Linked DNA regions of Homo sapiens: region 2 is linked to region 1. The links are contacts of gene promoters, found by promoter capture Hi-C in human tissues and cell types (Jung and others, 2019). All regions are on one chromosome and are shown on one strand. The core of a region is centred on a gene start or on the middle of the fragment in contact, and the rest is flanking DNA. Distances in the headings are between cores, read along the strand shown. Region 1 holds the start of HYAL1 (hyaluronidase 1). Region 2 holds the start of LOC124906237 (a long non-coding RNA gene).

What was found. Contacts are between HindIII fragments. The study calls those that stand out against the background at their distance.
Region 2: a fragment that was not itself captured here is called in contact with the fragment with the promoter of HYAL1 in region 1 in 1 of the 25 tissues and cell types used here (dorsolateral prefrontal cortex).

Annotation. Positions count from the first base shown.
Region 1 is chr3:50,300,028-50,307,202 of GRCh38, reverse strand. HYAL1 (hyaluronidase 1) reads left to right here and starts at 3,629. Exons shown (of 4, transcript NM_033159.4): 1 at 3,629-3,737; 2 at 4,223-5,146; 3 at 6,126-6,215; 4 at 6,403-7,175. The coding sequence starts at 4,247. The coding sequence ends at 6,720. RefSeq lists enhancers at 3,224-3,393, 3,211-4,145. The HindIII fragment of the contact is 11,854 bases long and covers 1-5,442 here.
Region 2 is chr3:51,665,548-51,672,722 of GRCh38, reverse strand. RAD54L2 (RAD54 like 2) reads right to left here. Exons shown (of 23, transcript NM_015106.4): 23 at 4,063-7,175. LOC124906237 (a long non-coding RNA gene) reads left to right here and starts at 1,618. Exons shown (of 2, transcript XR_007095907.1): 1 at 1,618-2,074; 2 at 3,067-4,106. It overlaps TEX264 (testis expressed 264, ER-phagy receptor), which reads right to left and starts at 1,471. Exons shown (of 5, transcript NM_015926.6): 1 at 1,435-1,471. RefSeq lists a silencer at 1,306-1,735. The HindIII fragment of the contact is 4,028 bases long and covers 814-4,841 here.

The DNA.
Region 1 (7,175 bases), core at 2,380-4,879:
AGTAGAAACAGGGTTTCGCCATGTTGGCCAGGTTGGTTTCAAACTCCTGACCTCAAATGATCCTCCTGCCTCAGTCTCCCAAAGTGCTAGGATTATGTGTGAGCCACTGCACCCGGCTTATTTTTTTTTTTTTTTAGCAGAGTCTTGCTCTGTCACCCAGGCTAGAGGGCAGTGGCGCAATCTCAGCTCACTGCAACCTCCGCCTTCCAAGTTTAAGTGATTCTCCTGCCTCAGCCTCCTGAATAGCTGGGATTATAGGTGTGGGCCACCATGCCTGGATAATTTTTGTGTTTTTGTTGTTGTTGTTGTTGTTGTTGAGATGGAGTCTTGCTCTGTCACTGAGGCTGGAGTAACAGTAGCATGATCTCGGCTCACTGCAACCCCCACCTCCCAGGTTGAAGCAATTCTCCTGCCTCAGCCTCCTGAGTAGCTGGGATTACAGGCACCCACCACCATGCCGGGCTAATTTTTGTATTTTTAGTAGAGATAGGTTTCACCATGTTGGCCAAGCTGGTCTCAAACTCCCGACCTCAGGTGACCCGCCCACCTCGGCCTCCCAAAGTGTTGGGATTACGGGTGTGAGCCACCACTCCCAGCCAAAAAAAATTTTTTTAATCTTATTACCATATTTCAGCTAGAACAAAATGCTGCTAAAGTAACAATGATCACACAAAGTATATGATTTCTGAGTGCTGTAAGTGTAAGCAGAAGTTAACACCAGCTGGTTGTTAAATGCTAACTTTAGTCATTTAAAGGAAATTGCAAGGCAGAATCCCAAGCCAGTTTCTTACCTAGTGATGGGTCTCAGGCTGTAGACTGCTCTCTACCATCCCAGAAGCAGGAAAAAAAAACTAATTTTCCCTGTTGGAAGCGAGCTCAAACTCCATAAAGGAGTTACCTGCCTTCCATCGTCATGGAAGCAGAAAAACTTGCTTTCCTTTTGGGAGCAAGTAAAACTCCAAAAAAAAAAAAAAAAAAAAAAAGAGTTGTACAGCAAAATAAACTTTAGATCTCAACCAATTGAGAAATCAAGGATTCTCTGGAGGGGGTGCTCCCAGACCTCAGCAAATTGTCCTATTGGTTTGAGCCATAAAGTTAGCTCCTGCTGGTACCAAGCACAGATAGGCAATTAGTCAAAAGTCAAGGACATCTCCACACAGAATCCATCCATAGTTACCAAATGTGAACCCAGAAAATCTGAGACAGCTCTCAGTTAATTTAAAAAGTTTATTTTGCTGAGGTTGAAGATGCATCCAAGACACAGCCTCAGGAAGTCCTGATGACATGTGCCCAAGGTGTTCCGGGCACAGCTTGGTTTTATACATTTTAGGGAGATATGAGACATCTATCAATACGTAAGAAGTACCTTAGCCAAGCGTGGTGGCTCAAGCCTGTAATCCCAGCACTTTGGGAGGCCAAGGTGGGCAGATCACAAGGTCAGGAGTTCAAGACCAGCCTGGCCAATATGGTGAAACCCTGTCTCTACTAAACATATAAAAATTAGCTGGGTGTGGTGGCACGCGCCTGTAGTCCCAGCTACTCTGGAGGCTGAGGCAGGAGAATCGCTTGAACCCGGGAGCCAGAGGTTGCAGTGAGCCGAGATCATGCCATTGCACTCCAGCCTGGGCGACAGAGTGAGACTTCATCTAAAAAAAAATTAGGCCAGGCGCGGTGGCTCACACCTGTAATCCCAGCACTTTGGGAAGCTGAGGCAGGCAGATCACAAGGTCAGGAGATCGAGACCATCCTGGCTAACACGGTGAAACCTCGTCTCTACTAAAAATACAAAAAATTAGCCAGGCGTGGTGGCGGGCGCCTGTAGTCCCAGCTACTCGGGAGGCTGAGGCAGGAGAATGGCATGAACCCGGGGGGCAGAGCTTGCAGTGAGCTGAGATCGCACCACTGCACTCCAGCCTGGGCGACAGAGCGAGACTCCGTCTCAAAAAATAAAAATAAAAAAAAAACAGAAGTACATAAGCTCTGTCCAGAGAGGTGGAGACAGCTCAAAGCACGGCCCCCCACTGGGGGCTTCCAGGTCACAGGCAGGTGACAGACAGATGGTTGCATTCTTTTGAGTTTCTGGTAGTCTTTCCAAAAGAGGCAATGGAGGCAATCATAATATGCATCTATGTCTGTAAGCAAAAGGATGACTTGAATAGAATGGGAGGCAGATTTGTCCTGAGCGGTTCCCAGCTTGAAGGGGCCCAAGATATTTTCCTTTCACATATTGAACAAGTGAAACCACAAATGAATGAACAAGCATGTGCTCACTGACAGCTCATATGCATGGTCACACAAACACAGGATCTCATGCTCACAAGACAGCAGGGCTCACACACACCCAGTCCCAGGCACTGGGTTCCACACTCACACCTACTTGCCACTGGAATTTGTGCAGAGGCTCAGATGGTCACTAAATGGGGCTTCACAAAGACACAGTCACTAACCCAGCACATATACAAAGGGTGATGACACAGCCCTGACTTCATGAACACAGTGCCTTTCAGAAACAGGTCCCTACAACAGGGATGACTTATCCACTAAGCACAATAGACCCAAGGCCTAGGGCCACAGTACTTTCAGGGGCCCACAAAATGTTTTTTTAATCAGAAGAAGAATATAAATGTAAATATATTAATAATTAATATATAATAGTGTAACCCAGACATGACCTCCTGGGCTCAAGCACTCCTCCTGCCTCAGTGTCCCAAGTAGCTGGGACTACAGGTACATACCACCATGCCCAGCTAATTTTTAATTTTTTTGTAGAGATGGGGTCTTGCTACATTGCCTAGGCTGGTCTCGAACTCCTGGGCTCAAGCAATTCTCCCACCTCAGCCTCCCAAAGTGCTAAGACTATAGCCATATATATATATATATATATATATATATATATATATATATATTTTTTTTTTTTTTTTTTTTTTTGAGATGGAGTCGCTCTCTGTCACCCAGGCTGGAGTATAGTAGCACAGTGGAGCAGTCTTGGCTCACTGCAACCTCTGCCTCCCGGGTTCAAGGGATTGTCCTGCCTCAGCCTCCCGAGTAGCTGGGATTACAGGCGCCTGCCACCACGCCCGGCTAATTTTTTGTATTTTTAGTAGAGAAGGGGTTTCACCATGTTAGCCGGGATGGTCTCGATCTCCTGACCTCGTGATCTGCCACCTCGGCTTCCCAAAGTGCTAGGATTATAGGCGTGAGCCTCCGCACCTGGCATGCCTGGCCATATTTTAAAATATTTTTTTTAAGGAGGAAAAGATCCACGAAAGTAAAGTGCCTAGGGCCCATCAATGTCAGATGCAGCCACGTGGACAAAGAACACTCCCTGAGCACAAGACACGAAAGAACCCGGTCTCCAGTGTCACAAACAGGCCTGCCCAGCAGGGTCTGCCCCTGCCCACCTCCTCCAGCCTAGGTAAGGCCACAAAGCCCTGCCCTAGTGCTGACAGCGTGGGAGGGGCCACTGTTGGCCCAGCCCCACCCCCAACCAAGATCCCTTTGCCAGGGATTCAGAGGTAGCCCTGATGCCTGGCTGGCCTGGCCTCCTAATCCAAGGCCCGCCCCTTGGCCCGCCCCTGGCCTGGGTGGGGTGACCCCCTACAAAAGCTCAGAATTTCCAGCAGCGGCTCCTTCCTCCAGGAGTCTCTGGTGCAGCTGGGGTGGAATCTGGCCAGGCCCTGCTTAGGCCCCCATCCTGGGGTCAGGAAATTTGGAGGATAAGGCCCTTCAGCCCCAAGGTCAGCAGGGACGAGCGGGCAGACTGGCGGGTGTACAGGAGGGCTGGGTTGACCTGTCCTTGGTCACTGAGGCCATTGGATCTTCCTCCAGTGGCTGCCAGGATTTCTGGTGGAAGAGACAGGAAGGCCTCCCCCCCTTGGTCGGGTCAGCCTGGGGGCTGAGGGCCTGGCTGTCAGCCACTCTTCCCAGAACATATGTCATGGCCTCAGTGGCTCATGGGGAAGCAGGGGTGGGCGAGCTTAGGCTAGAGCAAGTCCTGTGGGAGATGGCAGAGGCCTGGTCTGAGAGGCAACTCGGATGTGCCCTCCAGTGGCCATGCTCCCCTCCATGCGTCTCCCCTGCCCTCCTGGAGCCCTGCAGGTCAATGTTTAACAGAAACCAGAGCAGCGGTGGATTAATGCGCAAGGGCTCAGCCCCCCAGCCCTGAGCAGTGGGGGAATCGGAGACTTTGCAACCTGTTCTCAGCTCTGCCTCCCCTGGCCAGGTTGTCCTCGACCAGTCCCGTGCCATGGCAGCCCACCTGCTTCCCATCTGCGCCCTCTTCCTGACCTTACTCGATATGGCCCAAGGCTTTAGGGGCCCCTTGCTACCCAACCGGCCCTTCACCACCGTCTGGAATGCAAACACCCAGTGGTGCCTGGAGAGGCACGGTGTGGACGTGGATGTCAGTGTCTTCGATGTGGTAGCCAACCCAGGGCAGACCTTCCGCGGCCCTGACATGACAATTTTCTATAGCTCCCAGCTGGGCACCTACCCCTACTACACGCCCACTGGGGAGCCTGTGTTTGGTGGTCTGCCCCAGAATGCCAGCCTGATTGCCCACCTGGCCCGCACATTCCAGGACATCCTGGCTGCCATACCTGCTCCTGACTTCTCAGGGCTGGCAGTCATCGACTGGGAGGCATGGCGCCCACGCTGGGCCTTCAACTGGGACACCAAGGACATTTACCGGCAGCGCTCACGGGCACTGGTACAGGCACAGCACCCTGATTGGCCAGCTCCTCAGGTGGAGGCAGTAGCCCAGGACCAGTTCCAGGGAGCTGCACGGGCCTGGATGGCAGGCACCCTCCAGCTGGGGCGGGCACTGCGTCCTCGCGGCCTCTGGGGCTTCTATGGCTTCCCTGACTGCTACAACTATGACTTTCTAAGCCCCAACTACACCGGCCAGTGCCCATCAGGCATCCGTGCCCAAAATGACCAGCTAGGGTGGCTGTGGGGCCAGAGCCGTGCCCTCTATCCCAGCATCTACATGCCCGCAGTGCTGGAGGGCACAGGGAAGTCACAGATGTATGTGCAACACCGTGTGGCCGAGGCATTCCGTGTGGCTGTGGCTGCTGGTGACCCCAATCTGCCGGTGCTGCCCTATGTCCAGATCTTCTATGACACGACAAACCACTTTCTGCCCCTGGTGAGTCTTCTGTAACCTGCCCACCTTGTCAACCTGCCTTGTCAGATATTAGGTCCAGCCTTGGGGTACTTTAGCTTTGGGACATTTTCTTCGTTTTTTTTTTTTTGAGACAGAGTCTCACTCTGTCACCCAGGCTGGAGTGCAGTGGCACGATCTTGGCTCACTGCAAGCTCTGCCTCCCGGGTTCATGCCATTCTCCTGCCTCAGCCTCCGAGTAGCTGGGATACAGGCGCCCGCCACCACACCCAGCTAATTTTTTGTATTTTTTAGTAGAGTCAGGGTTTCACTGTGTTAGCCAGGATGGTCTCAATCTCCTGACCTCGTGATCCATCCGCCTCGGCCTCCCAAAGTGCTGGGATTACAGGCGTGAGCCACCGCGCCCGGCCCCCAACCTTGGGACATTTTCATCCATTCATTCATCCTTTTTTTTTTTTTTTTTTTGAGACGGAGTCTTGCTCTGTCACCCAGGCTGGAGTGCAGGGGCAAGATCTCAGCTCCTGCACCCTCCACCTTCCGGATTCAAGTGATTCTCCTGCCTCAGCCTCCCAAGTAGTTGGGATTACAGGCATGCCATCAACATGTCTGGCTAATTTTTGTATTTTTAGTAGAAATGGGGTTTCACCATGTTGGCCAGGCTGGTCTCGAACTCCTGACTTCAGGTGATCCTCCCACCTCAGCCTCCCAAAGTGCTGGGATTACAGGTATGAGCCACCGCGCCTGGCGCATGGGCACATCCATTGAGTGTGCACTTGGTGCCAAGTTCTGTGCCAGGCACAGGCAATTCAACATTTATTGGAATGATGTAGTCCCTGTCTGCATGGAATTCATAGGCTAGAGGAGGAAGCAGTTTGCCTCTGGTCCCATGGCCAGAGCAGCCCCAGGTGAAGGTTATGAATTATTTGTCCCATCTAATGGTGTTCCAGCAGTCTGCCACATGGTGGGAAGGAGGCCCCACAGAGCTGTGCTGTCTCCTTCCCAGGATGAGCTGGAGCACAGCCTGGGGGAGAGTGCGGCCCAGGGGGCAGCTGGAGTGGTGCTCTGGGTGAGCTGGGAAAATACAAGAACCAAGGTGAGCTTAGGCCTGGCATGAGGGTGGGGGTGGGGGAGGGGTGGGGCCATTAAGCTGACGGGGTAGACCCTGACTTACCCTTTCTACCTGCAAAGTCCTGGCTGACCAGCAGGTGAGTGCCTCAGTGCCCTGGGTGGGTCCATACATGGCCATGGTGTCCCTGACGCTATCCTCCCTTCCCACCTAGGAATCATGTCAGGCCATCAAGGAGTATATGGACACTACACTGGGGCCCTTCATCCTGAACGTGACCAGTGGGGCCCTTCTCTGCAGTCAAGCCCTGTGCTCCGGCCATGGCCGCTGTGTCCGCCGCACCAGCCACCCCAAAGCCCTCCTCCTCCTTAACCCTGCCAGTTTCTCCATCCAGCTCACGCCTGGTGGTGGGCCCCTGAGCCTGCGGGGTGCCCTCTCACTTGAAGATCAGGCACAGATGGCTGTGGAGTTCAAATGTCGATGCTACCCTGGCTGGCAGGCACCGTGGTGTGAGCGGAAGAGCATGTGGTGATTGGCCACACACTGAGTTGCACATATTGAGAACCTAATGCACTCTGGGTCTGGCCAGGGCTTCCTCAAATACATGCACAGTCATACAAGTCATGGTCACAGTAAAGAGTACACTCAGCCACTGTCACAGGCATATTCCCTGCACACACATGCATACTTACAGACTGGAATAGTGGCATAAGGAGTTAGAACCACAGCAGACACCATTCATTCCATGTCCATATGCATCTACTTGGCAAGGTCATAGACAATTCCTCCAGAGACACTGAGCCAGTCTTTGAACTGCAGCAATCACAAAGGCTGACATTCACTGAGTGCCTACTCTTTGCCAATCCCCGTGCTAAGCGTTTTATGTGGACTTATTCATTCCTCACAATGAGGCTATGAGGAAACTGAGTCACTCACATTGAGAGTAAGCACGTTGCCCAAGGTTGCACAGCAAGAAAAGGGAGAAGT
Region 2 (7,175 bases), core at 1,578-4,077, 1.4 Mb before region 1:
GGTATTAAACAGAGCCACGTGGACCAAAATGCAGGCAACACAAGCCCAGACAGTCTGATTCCAGCCCCTCATTTCCACTTTCTCTCTCCTCTCTGGTGACTGGCTTCCAAAACGCCTGAAGCATTAAATCCTTGTTGGACATCTCTGAGCCCAAAGCTGGAAAACTCTCAGCATCTAGGCCCCCACTTGCCTTGGGAATGACAAGCCCTCACCCTGATCTGCCATCTCAGCTGAACACTTCCTGTCTCCTCAAGGAAACTTAGTATCTACCTTTCTCTTCCTCTCACTTCCCAAACTGCTCAGAAAACGGCGGGGGGGAAGAAAACCCACCTGGGGGTCTCAGAGCCTTGGTCGGCACGTGGAGAGGTAACGTGAATTTCCCCTATATTCAAGAGAAAAGGAAGAAGGTCTGGGAGCTCACCTGAAATGCCAGGCTCACTTTTAGTAACTGCTGGCATCCAGTGCGGCAGGGGCCGAGCGCTCCAGTGCTGGGAGCTGAAAGAACAGTCACCCCTGCCCAGGAAATAACCACTGAGCCAACCATCATGCCCTGATTACCGTCCTCAGGGAAAGCCTACCGGTCCCTCTAAAGCACCCTCGTCCCATTCTCAAACCCCCTGTGGAAATCAGAAGCCAAACCTAGCTTTACAATGTCAGGTCTCTTCGCTAGAGCTCTGGTCACGCCCCTCTTCCTGGAGTACTCCAATCACACTTGGCGCCCAGAAACTGCCGCTGCCGCTGACCTTGGGCAGACTGCGCCCTCCCTCTAGCCTCGGCTCCCCCTCCGCTCAGAGGCCCGGGATGGACGCGTGCGGCCGGTGCCAGCGAGCCTCAGGGAAGGCTGCGCCCAGCCAGCTTCCTGGTGCCGCTCACGTGCGCGGCGGCGGAGGGCCGGGCCCTTAAACGGCCCCCGTCCTGGGCTAAACTTCGGTGCTAGCAGAGGGCGGAAGGACTATGGAGGGTGGGGGGCCGCCGCCTCCCACTTTCGGATTCCAGCCCCTGCTCACCCCGGGCCTTGCCTATTTACTCAGAGCCTTTCTCTTCGCCCACCTCCTCACGGAGCCCCACGCACGTCTGTAACTTAAAGGACGCTAAAGTTTGCAGCCCAGGCTGCGAGGCGCGGCCTTGGGGGACGGGGGCGGAGTTAAAACGCGACTCGCGCCTCTTTCCCTCACCTCCACGGCCCCGGGGCATGCCCTGCACCGGTGGCCGCGGAAGTGGGCTGCCCGGAAGAGTAGGGGCTGCCCCAAGGTCGCATCCAGGCCCTCGGACCTGGCCGAGGCCAGCTGTGGGCAAGACAAGATGCAAAGAGCGGCCCGGGCCGCGGGGGTCACGGAGGGGACACGGAGAGTCCTGAGGTCGCGCCAGGGCGGACAGGGGGAGTCCCAGACCTACGCCCCAGTGGGTATGCCTCTCCTCTGGCCCGGCCCTCACCTCAGCAGCCGCCCGCTGCGGACGCCGATCCGCGCAGGCGGCTCAGGGTTCGGTTACGGAGCCTGCGCGCGCCCGCCGCGCACGCTCGCTCCGCCCCCTCTCGCGGCGGGACATGGCCGTGGCCGTGGGCGCGTGCGCGCGGGACCCGGAGGGCGGAGGCCTGCCCCGCCCCGTCTCCATGGCAACGGGCGTGTGCCTAGCCCCAGCGCTGGCTGCGGCGGAACCCACGGCGTACCTTCCCGCCTCCAACAAACTATCCGGTTGCTGAGGTTGATTTAGCAACACCCCAGGGCATCTGGGTTGGCAGGAGCACCACAGTGACAGCCTGGCCCAGGCTCGGGTACGGGAGGCAGCCCAGTGGCCCGCAGTAGAGGGCCAGGCTGGGGACCAGGGAGCTGGGGCTGAGGAGAATTTGTACAGCCTAGGGAGGCGCAGCACAGCAGTATCAGCCTCTGGCATTTGTACCACCTTTAGTCCTGCCACTTTCTCTCACTGTGGCTTCGCAACAGACTTGGGAACCAAGAAAGGCATAGGTGAGGAAGCTGAAGCCCAGTCTGGGCTCGCGGAAGAAACTGGTGGATCCAACTTCTGCATAGCGCAAATATCTGCTTCCTGCCTCCACCCACCCATTCCCACTTCCGTGAGTATATTCATCCATCCAACACTTATTATTACTCCTTGCCAGGACAGTTCTAGGGGCTGGGGATAGAGTGAACAAAACCAAGGTTCTGCCCTCCTGGAGTTCACGTTCCATGGGAATGCCCTTCTTCCAGGCTCCTCCCTCAGTGCCCAGGTTGTGGCTGTGGGAGGCTGGTCTACCTTTGTGGTTTAGCGGTAACTTACGTGATTCCCACGTCAAGTGTAAGCTCCTTGATGATTGGTTCAATCTTCACCTCAAATTTCTGAGGACCTACAAACTACAAAGCACTCTTCTAGGGGCCCAAAGATAAAACGCTCCCCTCGTGAAAATCCCGGACTTTTGGTGGGAGGTGGGGAAGGTGACAACTATGCTCATAAGCTTGGCTACAAGACCGGCGAGGCCAAGAGCTACTTTGGTATCCTGACAAGGACTGATGTTTGGGAGGGGGATCCAGCAGATGGGAACACCACGAAGGTGGTGGTGGGAAAAGTCAGCAGTCACAGGGTGGTTCACCTTGTGGATCCCACTACTGCACCAGCAAAGAGCAGGCTGGGCACACAGAGACAGTCAAAATCCCAGCTTCCTTTCCCTCTGCTTCACATTCTTCCTTCCGCAGGCAGGGGAGTTTGAACCTTATCCACAGGGCCAAGCCTGTCCCAGCCCTCTAGGCAAACTGGCAGAACAGGCAGCTGGCCCCTCACAGGCACTCCGGGCTGGGCCAGTGCAGGTCGCAGCAGTTGTTTTACCTATGAACATCAAGCACATGGTCAAACCCTCAGCTTAGGTGCCCCAGGCAGGCGGGCTACACACTTGGTAGCATTTCCTTTGACACAAGGAGCAGCCATGGCCCGGGCTCAGAGACTGACAGCCTCTGCCTGCAGGGTCTGCGTGGTCATTTCTCCTGCTTCTCAGAAGGTGGTGAGCTTTTCCCAGGAAACCATTATAAGGAAGTGCCCATTCTTTATCTTGTTCTCTCTGCTCACTTCCCTTAGCCTGATTGGGGAACTCTAGAGCCCCACATCAGAGTTCAACATGTGCCTCAGGAGCTTCAGCACCTCTTTTGTGGGAGGAGAGTCCGCTGGTGACTGGGGCTGCAGGCCATGACATCAGCCTGCCCAGCTTCACCTCAGGCTGCTTCCAACAGTGCCAAGTGAGGTCCCTTGGCAGGATCCCTGCAAGGCAGCGGCTGGCCACCAGGAGGCAGCAGCCTACTCTACAAGGCACTTTCTTCATTCCAACCCCTTGTAACAGGTCTGAGGAAACCTGTTCGCCCAGCCATGTGCTGCAACCATCCTCCACTCCCAATCTTATCTCCCAATAGCACAGATTCCCCTATCATGAGTCCAGACTTGGCCTTCATCTCCTCTTGCCTTCCTCTGTCCAAGGAATCACTACAGAGATTCTTTCTCTATCCTTCTTTGTAAATTTCCAGAAAATTGTTTCCCCAGGGCCCCTCCCCTTGAAGAAATTAAACAGGAAGCTGGAGTAGACTGTCCCTTCTTTCCCCCACCTCTCACACTCCAAAGCTCTGTTTAACTCTGTGGGCCAGTGGCTAGATTCCCCAACATGGATGACAGAGAATACACATGCAATAAGAATGTTTTCGCTGCCACCAGCCACTCACAGACACACTGTCTCCCACCCTCTGAAGGCATTGTGCCCAATCCCCAGCCACTCACTGTCTAGTCAGGGCTGCCCCTGCAGGACTTGCCTTGGCTGAGGACCAGCTAGCTTCAAGCCACTCTGAAGTCAGCTTGCTGTTTCCCCTGGAGCCTGGTAATACATCCTTCTTCAGGTGAACAAAAGCAGAAAAAGCCCAGTGAACCCCACTGCAACAAAGAGCCTGCCATCAGTCTTCCTTCTGTTCCTGCCTATCTCATCACCCAAGGGCTATCCCAGAGCCCACTATGTTCTAAGATCTATTCCTTTCACCACCACCCAGCCAAACAACTATCCAGACAATTCCTTGATCAAACAACACTGCCTTCTTGAGTTTAAATTTTATTTTACAAAAAGAGAAATAAAGAAAACTGATAGGCAGTTATACTGACTTACAATTGTTCTGTTTGCTTTTTTTTAAAAAAGTGACATGAAACACAAGTAAAAATAAATACGTCATAGAAACAGCCAGTTGCCCAGTCTCTGGGGCAGGAGCGCCTGCCCTGCTGAGAGGAGGGAAGCCCATGATCACACCAGCAGCTGGATCACCCAGCCACAGATGCTCCTCGAAGCCAGGCACAGGTCCCAGGCCTCAGGGGCGTCCTGAGGAAAGAAGACGGAAAACCAAAGCCAGGTGCCAGGACCCTGGGGCCACCTCATTATCCCCCACTCCTCCTGGCAGCAGTCTGGTCTTAGTGGTTATCCATAGCGACCCCCCTTAACCCACCTGGACCCTCTTCCCCTGACCTCTCTGAAGATGGTACAAGGGAAAAACCTGTCTTGGGCAGGCTGGGGGGGATTCTTCTGGTGAGTCCCCAGCCCACCCTGAGTAACACAACCAGATAACAGTCATTTTACACCCAGGTGCACATGAGCACAGCACACAAACACACACACACACACTCACACACACACACACACACAGCTGGGCTGAGCTCTCTTCCAGGGAGGGTCCTGGGTCCAGTCACAGTATGAGGTCCTCTCTCTTCTGAATATCATCCCAGTAGTGGCAGCAGAGAGTACCCAAACCTCCCCAAGCCCTCTGCATTGCAGACACTGCAGCCTGCTTGGCTACCCCTCCCCAACACACTAGATTACTATGTCAAATAGACCTGCAAAAGGGAAAGGTGCACACTCAGGTCCCTGAAGAGCAAAGAAGTTGGACACTGCCTGCTCAAGAAGTTCATTGTTATAAGACTCAGGTATTCATAAAAGGCCTAGGGCTAAGCTAGTAGCACAGAAAAGCCGTTAAGGGGATCACAGCAGAATACACAGGGCAGAAGAGAAGAGTTGGCAGCAGGGGAACGGAGTCTCAAGGTGACCAATAGAGAGCACAACATTCTCAAATAGTCCTTGAGGTGCTGATTCCTGGGAGTAGTCAGCAGAGGGCCAGAACATCTCCCAGGGGTCCTTTTGGGGAAGGATGACTTCACTTAGTTTTAGGGGTGAAGAGCCACTGAGCTGGGTGCACAGAAGGCCATGGCTCAGAAGGGAAAGACTGATCTGAGAAATCAAAAGGAAGTGGGGGCCAGGAGCAGTGGCTCACGCCTGTAATCCCATCACTGGGAGGCCGAGGAGGGTGGATCACTTGAGGTCAGGAGTTCAAGGCCAGCCTGGCCAACGTGGTGAAACCCCGTCTCTACTAAAAAATATACAAATTAGCTGGGCATGGTGGTGTGCACCTGTAATCCCAGCTACTTGGGAGGCTGAGGCAGGAGGATCGCTTGAAACCGGGAGTGGAGGTTGCACGGAGCCAAGATCACACCATTGCACTCAAGCCTGGGTGACAGAGCAAGACTCTGTCTCAAAAAAAAAAAAAAGGAAGTGGGAAGCAGAAGGTAATATCCAGAACACTAGTAACAAGGAATGTAAAGCCCCCAGAAGACCTTCCCCATGGGATGAGGACTCAATTTCAGAGCAATGCCAGGTTTGAATAGACTCACACAGAGGGCCCTTCTCTGCTGACAACTTTGGGAGTGATGGTCCTACCCAGGCCACTTAAGTTTGGCTAAGTGTTTCAACCAATCTGCAAAACTGTACCCCAGCACTTTGCTTCCTGCTCCTGAATTGAGAAATTTCATATTTAGTTGTGAATCACAAGCATATAGAGACTCCACACACTAATTCCTAGGGAAGAGAGCTCCAAGGATCACAAGCATATAGAGACTCCACACACTAATTCCTAGGGAAGAGAGCTCCAAGGACCAGACAGAATTATCCTTAAATCAGGAGATGATGAGATAGATGCCTAAAAAGCATAACTCAAAGGGGTGTGGACTTCATAGATATCCAATCTAAAGAAAATGATATGACCCAACATGGTTCACTTCCTTTCTTAAATAGCTACTTTGTCCCTGTTCAATTTTTATCTACAAATATATTAAGAAAAGGAAATCAAGCATCACTATAAATGGTAAACCTCAATCATTAAGTAGTACTGTGTTCCCCAGGCTGAGAACTTGGCTAAACCAGATGAATGGGGCTTGAGAGGCCCTTGAAAACATTCCATGGAAGACAATGGTAAGGGAAAACGCCTAGGCCTGATTTTCTGCCCTCCCTCTTATCACCAGCCACCCTGCCCCCCTCAGGCCTGGATAATGGGTGGAAGACACCACCAAGTGTTTATGATCAAAGAAACTATAAAACATGGTTCTTAGGCTCTGAGATACTTCCTGCTTCCCTCACAAACATGCTTATGTTTGGTGTGCATGCACATTTGCCTATCAGCACATATAAAGAGACAGTGGAAAAGTCAGAAGTGTTTTCAGGTTATTTTCTTTAAAAAAAAAAAAAAAAAAAAAAAAAAAAAAAAAAAGCAAAAACCATGGACCTGGTAGCACTCCAATTTCCCATGATCCCACCCCCAACCCCTCTACACAATAGAAACTGCACATATAAAAGAAAGCCTTCTCTAGTCAGGTCAGCCTCCCAGAATGATGGCCTCTGCTGAGTAGAAGCAAGACCCAGTCCCTGGAACACTGGATAGACAGTAGGCATGTGCTGCCTCTCAGAATACCCATTTACTTTCTGTCAACTTCAAAAGCCAAGCCCATCCCTCCAGGGAATGGTTTCAGTTCCCGGCTGGGAAGGTTTCCGGATTCTTGGAGGCTAGTACAGTGATTTCCTAGAAGTGAACACAGAAATACTACCCCCTTCTCCCGACAACACACACACACAGACATACACATGCACACATGCATCTCTGGGATCCCAGTGCTCCAGGGCCTGAGAGGCATCAGTGTAACCCAGGTTCTGAGTGTGTCCCATAAATTGGAGATTCAGTCTAGCTCACTCCTACTGCACCAGCCTCAACCTGAGAGCTCACTCCAACTGAGTCCCTTCACCATCCATTCTTGGGATGCATCTGAAAGAGAAAGCACTGGTTGGAACTGCTATTTTTAAATTATTAAAATAATTTGCATAGCTAAATTGTAGATCTAAG